Regions from separate parts of the Homo sapiens genome. Here regions 1 and 2 are each linked to region 3. Evidence: promoter capture Hi-C in 16 types of primary human blood cells and fetal thymus (Javierre and others, 2016). All regions are on one chromosome and are shown on one strand. Each heading gives the region's core, a stretch centred on a gene start or on the middle of the fragment in contact. The rest is flanking DNA. Distances are from core to core; before and after follow the strand shown.

The links. Contacts are between HindIII fragments. The CHiCAGO score rates a contact against its expected background, and 5 or more counts as called.
Region 1: a contact is called between a fragment that was not itself captured here and the fragment with the promoter of CWC22 in region 3, in 1 of 17 cell types (activated CD4 T cells). The highest score is 5.6, in activated CD4 T cells.
Region 2: a contact is called between a fragment that was not itself captured here and the fragment with the promoter of CWC22 in region 3, in 1 of 17 cell types (non-activated CD4 T cells). The highest score is 8.4, in non-activated CD4 T cells.

What each region holds. Positions count from the first base shown.
Region 1 is chr2:177,614,726-177,618,902 of GRCh38, reverse strand. It overlaps IFT70A (intraflagellar transport 70A), which reads left to right and starts at 161. Exons shown (of 1, transcript NM_152275.4): 1 at 161-4,177. The coding sequence starts at 202. The coding sequence ends at 2,199. IFT70A-AS1 (IFT70A antisense RNA 1) reads right to left here. Exons shown (of 3, transcript NR_198966.1): 2 at 1,383-1,602; 3 at 1-615. RefSeq lists an enhancer at 1-88. The HindIII fragment of the contact is 801 bases long and covers 2,167-2,967 here.
Region 2 is chr2:177,549,173-177,553,508 of GRCh38, reverse strand. It overlaps IFT70B (intraflagellar transport 70B), which reads left to right and starts at 713. Exons shown (of 1, transcript NM_152517.3): 1 at 713-4,336. The coding sequence starts at 746. The coding sequence ends at 2,743. RefSeq lists enhancers at 447-736, 105-908, 909-1,713. The HindIII fragment of the contact is 254 bases long and covers 2,457-2,710 here.
Region 3 is chr2:180,004,481-180,009,046 of GRCh38, reverse strand. It overlaps CWC22 (CWC22 spliceosome associated protein), which reads left to right and starts at 1,750. Exons shown (of 20, transcript NM_020943.3): 1 at 1,750-2,180. RefSeq lists an enhancer at 2,070-2,602. The HindIII fragment of the contact is 3,569 bases long and covers 357-3,925 here.

The sequences.
Region 1 (4,177 bases), core at 1,318-3,817, 2.4 Mb after region 3:
GTCGTCTTTCCCCTTCTGACTGCCGCCACGCTGCAGTCCAGAATATTTGAAGATCAAACCGAACTTGAGAGACTAACGAGAACGGTCCCTTTTTATTCCTAACAGATTCCTTCCGTGGCAAAGTAACCCGTCGTCTTCCGTTTCCGGTTGCCCGGTTGCCCTGTTGCCGTGGTAACCGCACGCATAACAGCCGTGGTGGTTATGGCTGGTCTGAGCGGCGCGCAGATCCCCGACGGGGAGTTTACCGCGCTAGTGTACCGGCTCATCCGCGATGCCCGCTACGCCGAGGCGGTGCAGCTGCTGGGCCGAGAACTGCAGCGGAGCCCCAGGAGCCGTGCCGGCCTGTCGCTGCTAGGCTACTGCTACTACCGCCTGCAGGAGTTCGCGCTGGCGGCCGAGTGCTATGAGCAGCTGGGCCAGCTGCACCCGGAACTGGAGCAGTACCGCCTGTACCAGGCCCAGGCCCTGTACAAGGCCTGCCTTTATCCGGAGGCCACTCGGGTCGCCTTCCTTCTCCTGGATAACCCCGCCTACCACAGCCGGGTCCTCCGCCTGCAAGCTGCCATCAAGTATAGCGAGGGCGATCTGCCAGGGTCCAGGAGCCTGGTGGAGCAGCTGCTGAGTGGGGAAGGGGGAGAAGAAAGTGGAGGCGACAATGAGACCGATGGCCAGGTCAACCTGGGTTGTTTGCTCTACAAGGAGGGACAGTATGAAGCTGCATGCTCCAAGTTTTCTGCCACACTGCAGGCCTCGGGCTACCAGCCTGACCTTTCCTACAACCTGGCTTTGGCCTATTACAGCAGCCGACAGTATGCCTCAGCACTGAAGCATATCGCTGAGATTATTGAGCGTGGCATCCGCCAGCATCCTGAGCTAGGTGTGGGCATGACCACCGAGGGCTTTGATGTTCGCAGTGTTGGCAACACCTTAGTTCTCCATCAGACTGCTCTGGTGGAAGCCTTCAACCTTAAGGCAGCCATAGAATACCAACTGAGAAACTATGAGGTAGCTCAAGAAACCCTCACCGACATGCCACCCAGGGCAGAGGAAGAGTTGGACCCTGTGACCCTGCACAACCAGGCACTAATGAACATGGATGCCAGGCCTACAGAAGGGTTTGAAAAGCTACAGTTTTTGCTCCAACAGAATCCCTTTCCTCCAGAGACTTTTGGCAACCTGTTGCTGCTCTACTGTAAATATGAGTATTTTGACCTGGCAGCAGATGTCCTGGCAGAAAATGCCCATTTGACGTATAAGTTCCTCACACCCTATCTCTATGACTTCTTAGATGCCCTGATCACTTGCCAGACAGCTCCTGAAGAGGCTTTCATTAAGCTTGATGGGCTAGCAGGGATGCTGACTGAGCAGCTTCGGAGACTCACCAAGCAAGTACAGGAAGCAAGACACAACAGAGATGATGAAGCTATCAAAAAGGCAGTGAATGAATATGATGAAACCATGGAGAAATACATTCCTGTGTTGATGGCTCAGGCAAAAATCTACTGGAATCTTGAAAATTATCCAATGGTGGAAAAGGTCTTCCGCAAATCTGTGGAATTCTGTAACGACCATGATGTGTGGAAGTTGAATGTGGCTCATGTTCTGTTCATGCAGGAAAACAAATACAAAGAAGCCATTGGTTTCTATGAACCCATAGTCAAGAAGCATTATGATAACATCCTGAATGTCAGTGCTATTGTACTGGCTAATCTCTGTGTTTCCTATATTATGACAAGTCAAAATGAAGAAGCAGAGGAGTTGATGAGGAAGATTGAAAAGGAGGAAGAGCAGCTCTCTTATGATGACCCAAATCGGAAAATGTACCATCTCTGCATTGTGAATTTGGTGATAGGAACTCTTTATTGTGCCAAAGGAAACTATGAGTTTGGTATTTCTCGAGTTATCAAAAGCTTGGAGCCTTATAATAAAAAGCTGGGAACAGATACCTGGTATTATGCCAAAAGATGCTTCCTGTCCTTGTTAGAAAACATGTCAAAACACATGATAGTCATTCATGACAGTGTTATTCAAGAATGTGTCCAGTTTTTAGGACACTGTGAACTTTATGGCACAAACATACCTGCTGTTATTGAACAACCCCTCGAAGAAGAAAGAATGCATGTTGGGAAGAATACAGTCACAGATGAGTCCAGACAATTGAAAGCTTTGATTTATGAGATTATAGGATGGAATAAGTAGTTATGACTGATAGTGGCTTTTTTCAAAATGGCTTTCTTACGTACCACACTTTTTTTTATCTGTATTTAGCCTTGGCATCTTTATATTTGTCTTATTTTGAATCTTATCCACTTTGTAAGAACAAGTTTATGTTTGAGCAACTTTTTCATTTAATCCAGAAGGGTAGGGACTATGCAGTGTAAGCTGCATCACTTCTGCTTTCTTCCTACTAGTGACAATCATCTGGTCTTGCCCTCAAGCAACAATTGCTAGAGTAACATCTTTGTATAAGCAAGTAACCCCAGATAGAGTTGACGTTTCAGCTTTGGGCTGTCAAAAGGGTATGTCATGGACCAAAGCACTGTTAGTACGGGTATGTTTGCATTTGGTCACTGATATGTAAATGACTGCTAGCCCACGGCTGGACCACTTCTCAATCAGCAAATAAAGCCATGTCTATTTTGCTATCTCAGCATAGACTATGCTGTCTGATAAATCTAATTCTTAACTCTATTTCTCCAGTTTTTTAGTCCTTTAACTTTCTGGATTGCAACGAAGTCTAGTTTAGACCTCTAAGCCCTTTTAGAAGTACAAGTATAATGGGAATTTCTTTTCTTGGTTCTTTTCAGGTTATGAGGTTTGGTCAGTGACAAAATTTTTTTTCATAATTTGGTTGATTGGTTGCTTCTTAAGTTTTATAATAAACGTTTTTCTTCATGTTCTATTTTTGATTTTACAGAAATGATTTTGCCTCCTTGTGGATACTGACATATATTAAGTGTGGAAGCTTATTAATATTTTTGGTTTTTTAAAAACTGAAATTTTTAATTTTTACTTTTTAATTTTTTAGGAAAAAATAAGCACTGAACTGAGAATGAGAAGAATAAAAGTATGAGTTCCATACCTTCTAATTTTAGGCTGTCAGAAATTCCTTTATTCTTTGGGATTTCACAATCATTTGAACTATCAGAAGCCTTTACAATTACTTTTAGCTGTAACATCCGATTCTGTATAAGCCACATAGAAAAAAGTTGCCTTTCTTTTTTTATGACCTGGATATATAAGCAAATCAGCTAGGAAATATATAATTGTATTTTATATTAATGTTTTCTAGGATTTTGGCTTACAGTAAATGTTAACCCCTATGGTAAGTGATTGTTATTGTTGGATGTTATACTGATTATTAATAAGAAATTTGGATTTTTGCCTTTTTACCTGGAATTTTTGCTTACAGCCGTAGCTATGAATATATATAGGGTGGTCCCCAGTCTCTGTTATGGTTGCGCATAAATTAATAATTTTATAAGTATTTAGAAATGGTATAATTCTCTTAACTTCCTCTTTCAGTTTTTGTACTAATGTTTGTTTTTGTTCGGGAAGAGGAGATTTGCTTTTAATCCTTCCAAAAAATGATGAACCACCGTTCCATTCAGTAGTTTGACAAGCTGTTATAATGTGTATTTTTTCCTCAATTATTCTTGAAATATTTAGAGCCTCTCCTGCTTCTAACATGAAGGCCTTTAGATGCCAGTCTGCCAGAAATCTGGAAACAGAGGAACCGGTGAAGTGAAGATGTAATGGAGATTTAGCTAATGATGTACTTCACAATCCACCTTGGATCTCCTGCATGTCCAAATCTCAGTAGTTAATCAAGTGTCTGCTGCCATTAACAGAACAGAAGTAATGGATAACAGAATGGAAATAAGAGATGCCAGAACTACTTCCATAACTAACTCACCAAATCAAATCATCAGTCCTCATATTCTTGTTTTATTTAATACAAGGAGAAGAGGCCATGCACTTTCCAAAAGGTCAAAGCCACATAGAATAGGAAGGCAATCTCTAGTTTAAAGCTTTCTCTTGGAGTGTTTTCTCCCCCTGTCTTCAAAGGGTCTACTTGAGAGATAGTGGTGTTTACTGCTGCAGCATGTATCACAAGATAAGAAATGAAAAATCAATCTTTCTTACCACCCTGTTCTCTTTCCCTTTTTTATCTTTT
Region 2 (4,336 bases), core at 1,334-3,833, 2.5 Mb after region 3:
TTGTTGTTACGGGAAAAAAGAGCGGGAGATACTTGGACCTAAAACCGAAACTCTCCCAGTACCAATCAAGATTCACAGTCCTTTTTCCTCATTAACCTCTGGAAACCACCAAATTAAGGATTCCTGCTCGCCGCTCTATTCCGTTCTTACAAACTGTGCCCTCGGGGTAGTGCAAAAAAGAACGTGCTCTAATTCCAGGGTAATTCCAAGAGATAACTCGCCTTTTGCCATCCCGGTTCTTTTACTGAAACTAAACCAAAAGCCAGCATTATTATCGACCACACCGTGTACCAGGCTCAAAATCGCCAGGAACATGGGGCCGGAAACCTTCCTCCGCCGCGCCAGAGACCACGGTGCCATAACAGACACAGTGAGCGCCCCTCATCTTTAAGAGGCAGGGAAGGAGAGTTACCCTGCACCCCCACGGGCCGCCGGTTCGGTAGGTACAGCCGGGACTACGTCTCCCAGCATGCAGCGCGGCTACGACCCGCGCCGCGGAACCACTGGAACGGTGCATGCCGGGACGAGTAGATTCAGTCTCTGAACGGCCCGGAGTAGTCTTTCCCCTCCTGAATGCCGCCACTCCGCAGTCCAGAGTATTTGAAGATCAAGCTGAAATTGAGAGACTGACGAGAGTGGTCCCTTTTTGTTCCTAACAGATTTCTTGCGACAAGGAAACCGGCAGTCTTCCGCTTCCGGTTGCTCTGTTGCCATAGTAACCGCACCCATAACAGCCGTGGTGGTTATGGCTGGCCTGAGCGGCGCGCAGATCCCCGACGGGGAGTTCACCGCGGTCGTGTACCGCCTCATCCGCAATGCACGCTACGCCGAGGCGGTGCAGCTGCTGGGCGGAGAACTGCAGCGGAGCCCTAGGAGCCGCGCCGGCCTGTCGCTGCTAGGCTACTGCTACTACCGCCTGCAGGAGTTCGCGCTGGCGGCCGAGTGCTATGAGCAGCTGGGCCAGCTGCACCCGGAACTGGAGCAGTACCGCCTGTACCAGGCCCAGGCCCTGTACAAGGCCTGCCTTTATGCGGAGGCCACCCGGGTCGCCTTCCTTCTCCTGGATAACCCCGCCTACCACAGCCGGGTCCTCCGCCTGCAAGCTGCTATCAAGTACAGCGAGGGCGATCTGCCAGGGTCCAGGAGCCTGGTAGAGCAGCTGCCGAGTAGGGAAGGGGGAGAGGAAAGTGGGGGCGAGAATGAGACCGATGGCCAGATCAACCTGGGTTGTTTGCTCTACAAGGAGGGACAGTATGAAGCTGCATGCTCCAAGTTTTTTGCCGCCCTGCAGGCCTCGGGCTACCAGCCTGACCTTTCCTACAACCTGGCTTTGGCCTATTACAGCAGCCGACAGTATGCTTCAGCACTGAAGCATATCGCTGAGATTATTGAGCGTGGCATCCGCCAGCACCCTGAGCTAGGTGTGGGCATGACCACTGAGGGCATTGATGTTCGCAGTGTTGGCAACACCTTAGTCCTCCATCAGACTGCTCTGGTGGAAGCCTTCAACCTTAAGGCAGCTATAGAATACCAACTGAGAAACTATGAGGCAGCTCAAGAAGCCCTCACTGACATGCCACCCAGGGCAGAGGAAGAGTTGGACCCTGTGACCCTACACAACCAGGCACTAATGAACATGGATGCCAGGCCTACAGAAGGGTTTGAAAAGCTACAGTTTTTGCTCCAACAGAATCCCTTTCCTCCAGAGACTTTTGGCAACCTGTTGCTGCTCTACTGTAAATATGAGTATTTTGACCTGGCAGCAGATGTCCTGGCAGAAAATGCCCATTTGATTTATAAGTTCCTCACACCCTATCTCTATGACTTCTTGGACGCTGTGATCACTTGCCAGACAGCTCCTGAAGAGGCTTTCATTAAGCTTGATGGGCTAGCAGGGATGCTGACTGAGGTCCTCCGGAAACTTACCATACAAGTACAGGAAGCAAGACACAATAGAGATGATGAAGCTATCAAAAAGGCAGTGAATGAATATGATGAAACCATGGAGAAATACATTCCTGTGTTGATGGCTCAGGCAAAAATCTACTGGAATCTTGAAAATTATCCAATGGTGGAAAAGATCTTCCGCAAATCTGTGGAATTCTGTAACGACCATGATGTGTGGAAGTTGAATGTGGCTCATGTTCTGTTCATGCAGGAAAACAAATACAAAGAAGCCATTGGTTTCTATGAACCCATAGTCAAGAAGCATTATGATAACATCCTGAATGTCAGTGCTATTGTACTGGCTAATCTCTGTGTTTCCTATATTATGACAAGTCAAAATGAAGAAGCAGAGGAGTTGATGAGGAAGATTGAAAAGGAGGAAGAGCAGCTCTCTTATGATGACCCAGATAAGAAAATGTACCATCTCTGCATTGTGAATTTGGTGATAGGAACTCTTTATTGTGCCAAAGGAAATTATGACTTTGGTATTTCTCGAGTTATCAAAAGCTTGGAACCTTACAACAAAAAGCTGGGAACAGACACCTGGTATTATGCCAAAAGATGCTTCCTGTCCTTGTTAGAAAACATGTCAAAACACACAATCATGCTTCGTGATAGTGTTATTCAAGAATGTGTCCAGTTTCTAGAACACTGTGAACTTCATGGCAGAAACATACCTGCTGTTATTGAACAACCCCTGGAAGAAGAAAGAATGCATGTTGGAAAGAATACAGTCACATATGAGTCTAGGCAGTTAAAAGCTTTGATTTATGAGATTATAGGATGGAATATATAGTAATAGCTGATAGTGGCATTTATCAAATGGCTTTGTTATGTAAATTTGCATCGCTTTATTTACCCTTTGGCATCTTTATATTTGTTACATGTTGAACTTTGTACACTTATGCATTATAAAAAAAAAAGTAGCTAAAACTTTTGCTGTTAAATTTCCCAGAAAGTGACATATTCTAAGAACTTTTACCCCAGGAGTTATGAAAAATTCCAAACTTATGAGGAATGTTTATATCAGAAGTTGTAATACGTTTGTTTCCTTTCCTCTGTTATCTTTTGTGCTTTGACGTATCTTGAGGGGTCTTTGCACAAGGATTACATCATTCAGGGACCAAGCACTATCTCAGTAATAGTTAAGAGTAGTCTTTAAATAATCATTTCAGGGATTGTGTGAGAGTAGTCTCACAATTTACACTCATTAATTTGTAATGCATACTTTTTATATAGACTTTAGGATATTTTGGCAGTGTTTATTCATATGGATATAATTCTTTACCTAACCAAAATTCCTTAGGTTATAAGTGGTTTTAACGTGCAAAAGTCAGTAAAAAATTTTGTTGCCTTAACAAAATTATGGTGCTATAATGTAGAGACAATGAACGATTATCAAAGAACAAATTTCCCTGGTTTTCTTTTGTTCCCTTTAATAATTTAAATATATGAACAAGATACACTGTTACTATTTTCCATGATAACTTTTTAAATATCTCTGTGAGAAATAACAGAGCTATCCTGAGAACTCAGGGGTTTGTTTAAGAGACACAGGTTTTGTTATGTTTGTTGCCCAGGCTAGTATCCAGCTCCTAGGCTTAAGCATACTCCCACTTCAGCTTCCCAAGTAGCTGGGACTACTGGCACAAATCACTGGGTCCAGTTCTCAGTTCTTAATTCCTACCTTTGTGTTTGCAATTTAGGATATGCTGGCTGTACAGTGTTTCCATGTTGTAGCCTCTTGAATAAGGAAAAATCTCAGCCACCAGGTCTGACCAAAAAGGTCAATTCTAAGTTGTAATGTTCATTTCATGTCCGCAACTCCCAAGAGTTATTTGGAGTTCCCACTGGGAACCACATGCATTCTGATCAGGCATTTTATTTTCTGAACCTTACAAGAGCCTTACTATTTGATTTCCCACTCCTCACTCCTCTCTTCCCACAAAAAGTAACTGTCAATCCTAACTTGACCTGGCTTAGAAAAATCAAGTGTATTAGACTGAATCATATGCAGTTGTTGATTTTGACAGTTTTTGATGTACAAAACTAGCAGTTTCTCATAGCTCAACCTAGTAGCTTTCTTCTGAATGATAGGGAACCTCTGCCATAATGAGATGATTTTTTCCTTCAAGGAAAAGGAACCACTTAGCCACATAAGTACTGATAAGAAACATGCTCAGCATAATTCCTCTGTAGCATGACCTCCTGAGTGCTCAAATTGTATTATACCAGGAAATTTGGCTTATTGTGAAGTTCAATGGTTTTGAATTTATGGCATTTTAAATCTTAATTATCTGAGCTGCTATCATTTACCACTGATGCTTTAGTCTCACATGTGGAGGACAAGCAATGTTTAGTGACCTCTTCACTGCATCCCATAGCACAT
Region 3 (4,566 bases), core at 501-3,000:
CTGACAAATCCAATTCTTTTCCAGCTCCATCTAGTTCTCCTCTGCTCAACCCTAACTTTCCTATTTCTGTTGATAGTTGTAGAGGTAGTATATTCATCAGGGTTCCCTAGAGGGACAGAACTAATAGGATATAGATAGATAGATAGATAGATAGATAGATAGATAGATAGATACACACACACGCACACACACACGTATATATATCCTATTACATATATATCCTATTTTTTATATATATCCTTATATATATATCCTAATATATATATCTATATATAAGGATATATATATAAAAAGGGGAGTTTATTAAGTATTAACTTACACAATCACAAGGTCCCACAATAGGCTGTCTGCAAGCTTGAGGAGCAAGGAGAGCCAGTCTGAGTCTCACAACTGAAGAATTTGGAGTCCAATGTTTGAGGGCAGGAAGCATCCAGCATGGGAGAAAGATATAGGCTGGGAGGCTAGGCCAGTCTTGCCTTTTCATATTTTTCTGCCTGCTTTATATTCGATGGTAGCTGATTAGATTGTTCCCACCAGATTAAGGGTGAGTCTGTCTTCCCCAGTCCACTGACTCAACTGTTAATCTCCTTTGGCAACACCCTCACAGATACACCCAGGATCAATACTTTGCATCCTTCAATCCAATCAAGTTGACATTCAGAATTAACCATCACCGGTAGTATTGTGGGTTTTTAAATATATGAATACAAATGTTCATCTCCAGATCCATCTCCTGTGCCCTGTATTGGTGCACCAAAATGCACCATCAACAATGGCCAAATATCTTAAATATGAAATAAAATAGATAACACTATTGTATACTAGCAATTATCTTAAATGCATCTTGTGTATCAACTAATTCAATTCTTAAAACTACTGCCTGGATGGATACTATTGGTATTTCCATTTAACAGATCAGGAAACGGCCACAGAATGTGAAGTTACTTGCCCCAGTCATCCATAAATAATAAAAGGACTCAAGATTCAAAATAAGTAGTCCAACTGCAGTGTTTTTATTCTTAATCATCACACTCTGCCTCCAGAAAGGAGTGGAAGCACAGCACCCTAAAACTGTAATAGAGAAGTGTGTGGAGAAACCAGTCCTGGTTTATGAAAGATTTGATAACATAAAGATATTCTTGGTTTAGGAAGAGAGTTTCCAAAATAGCAAGTAGTTGAACTTTTAGGTTTTGTTACTAGTGAAAAGTGAAGTTTAAAGAAACTGTTTGATGCCCTAGTTCTGCACGCTGTACAAACTGCTACTTCCTACTCAGCCAGGCAATCTCTTTATTCTCAGGTCATACCAGTTGGTACCTTAACCTAAAAGAGAGGCAACACAGTCTCTATAGAATTAGTTTTTCCTCATTATTTCACTCTATTTATGATTTAATATTCTCCCATTCTTATGGCCTGGATATCTTGGAATTTATTAGGCACTTAACTGTTGGTCAAACTCTTATAAAGTCTCAGGAAAATCTCTCTCTTAAGATTTTTCAAGGAAAGTGACAACTGACTGCTTTTTTAAAAAAAATTTCCCCAAAATGCAGTGAAATAGTTTTAAAGTAAATTCGGCTAGACCCTGAACACTACTAGGCTGCCAGTGAGCAGCGTGGATGTTAACTCGCTGGCGCGCATCTGTATGAACTACAATTCCCATCGTACACCGCGCCATTTCACGCTAAACTACAATTATGCTTTCCTCATTTCCGTCAGCACAGGCGCTGGATTTCGGACTTTGTAGTTCATGCCAACTTCTCTTTTTTGTCGCCATTTTGGCAACAAGACAGTGTGCCTGGATCGACTACTTTGACTCTGGTATTATGATATGGTATTTGAAATAAATTAAAGGGATAACGTGTCAAGCCAATTGAGCGTCAAGTTTTTAAATATTTCACTATTCGCCTTCTTCCTACCGTCGGTGCTCGGGAAGAGGAAGTGACGTACGTCCGGTGTAATGGCGGCGCGGTGGAGCTCTAGGTAATTATCGAACTCCGTGGAGTCCCCGCAGGCAGAGACGCGGAGTGGGGGTGGCGGGTCGCCGGATCGGGTGGGAAGTAAAAGACCCCCAGGAGTGGGTGCGGGCTCACTGATACGGCTGTGAGCGGCATTGGAGTGTGCGTGGGTCTTCTCGCTACGCTCGGGCCCGCAAGAGGGGTGTGAGAGCGGCTAGGTCCAAGCAGGTGGGGAGGGAATGGGCTGCCATGAACTGACTGCCTGAGCGGACCGGCTGACCTTCCTTGTGAAGTTCCTGGAGCTGTCTGAAATCCTGCACCAACGCTGGTGCTGTGTTGTTTCTTGTGCACTGCGTTTTATACTTAGAGCCTCTGGAGTCCATTGGGGCTTGCCAAAGCCCCTTTCCTAGTGCCCGGGTCCCAGGGTCAGGGGAGTGGGATTAATGAGATCTAGTTGATTAAAAGTTAGTTGAATTACTTGCACTCTTATGCCTCTTGCCGGCATTATATCCCTTTGACTATTTGTTTTAAATTTCATTAGCGTCTTCTTTTTCATTTATTTGCCCTGTAAATACTGATAGTGTCTAGTGTTTAGTCTTGAAGACACTTCGCTTCTCATGTGCCCGCTTCATCTGTCATTCTTGATCCTTCCATAACTTGAACTATCTCCAGTGAGGTAATAACTGCCAAACTTGGGTCTCCAGGCTCCACCTCTCTAACGAGCTCTGGGTCCTACAACACAGCATTATATAACGGAAATATAATAGTTAATTTCACTGAGTTTAACTGCAAAAACCACGGTACCTATTTCCATTTAATCCTAACAATTCTTCTGAGGTAAGTGGAGAAGGCAGGATTTGGAGAAAGGCTATTCTAGATGCAAGAATTAGGTAAGAGTTTCCTTTGCATTTTTAGATGTGCAGAGACTCGAAATAGCAGATAAGCAAGCAAACTTGGTTCTCAGCAGATCAGTTAACCTACCTCTTATCTGTATTTAGACTTACCTTGTTTTAGGATTGCTTGTGAATTCAGGAGTTAACATAAATTATCATCCTACTATGGAAGGGCAGATTTAAAATTGACATTAAAAGTGTGGTTTTGACCAGGAGAGGAGAAGCATTGTTACAGGCGTTATCAGTAGGTGGAGGAAAGCCACTTGTGTTGGTCCTGGGTGATGGACTAGTAGACCAAAGATTTCTGTTTTATCCAGCTATTATTAGGTCTGTCACTTGGAGCAAGTTACCTAAAGTCTCTAGTGTCAGCTTCATCATCTGGAAACATGTAGGTAGTAATACAATACCTGCCTCACTGTATTGTCTTTTTTTGAGTATAAAGAAAAATAATGCAGATGAGGCACTGAGCACAGCGTTAGCGTTGTATTATTGTAAATTACTACTATGATACAGTTGATGAGTTCTCTCTGTTCCTCAATTCTTGTTCTCTGGTTCTGAATGTTGCCTTTCCACCTGTAAGTGTCCTTCCAGTTGTTTTTTGTTTTTTGTTTTGTTTTGTTTTGTTTGAGACGGAGTCTTACTCTGTCGCCCAGGCTGGAGTGCTGTGGCGCTATCTCGGCTCACTGCAAGCTCCGCCTCCCTAGTTCATGCCATTCTCCTGCCTCAGCCTCCCAAGTAGCTGGGACTAAGGTGCCCGCCACCACGCCTGGCTAATTTTTTGTATTTTTAGTAGAGACGGGGTTTCACTGTGTTAGCCAGGATGGTGTCTGTCTCCTGACCTTGTGATCCACCCGCCTCGGCCTCCCAAAGTGCTGGGATTACAGGCGTGAGCCACCGCTCCCGGCTAGTGTCCTAGTTTTAAGTGTCCATGCCACTTTAATGGAGTCTTTCCCAACTCAGTTGACTGGGGCTCTGAGACTGTCTTGGTTATAAGTTAAAGGCCAAGAACTTTGATCTAATACACTGGTGTATTGGTTCCAAAAATGTCTTCTGAATCAGCAGCATCATCTCCTTGAAGCTTGTTAGCAATGTAAATTACTGGGCTTCACCCAGTTCTGTTGAATCGGAAACGTGGAAATGGAGGCCCAACAGTCTGTCTGTCTTTTTTTTTTTTTTTTCCGAAAGCATTCGAGTAGTTCTCATGCCAATTAGTTTGAGAACTTCTGCTCTGGCTCATCCTTTAGGGGCATGCTATGATTCATCCTCCCCCGTCCTCAGAATCATGTTTGCTGCCCTCCTTGCTCCAAAGTACTTGGATGCATGGCCAGCCAGTATTTATTATTATTCCACCACATCCTTCCCTGCTTTGGATAGGGTACCTCCAATCACTTTTTGGAGTTCTGACACTTCCTAGACTACCTAATTGTTTTTCTAAGCCAGCTTTCTTAGCTCTGTTAGCTTTCCCAGCTGCTGAATTTTTAGAAGTTAACTCTCCTGGGGGGGAGGGGGGCGAGGGGCGGGGGCGGCGATGGCTCATGCCTGCATTCCCAGCACTTTGGGAGGCCAAGGCGGGCGGATCACTTGAGATAGACCAGCCTGGCCAACATGGTGAAACCCCGTCTCTACTAAAAATACAAAAAAAATCAGCAGGGTGTGGTGCTGTGCGCTTGTAGCCCCAGCTACTCGGGTGGCTGAGGCACGACAATCACTTAAACCTGGGA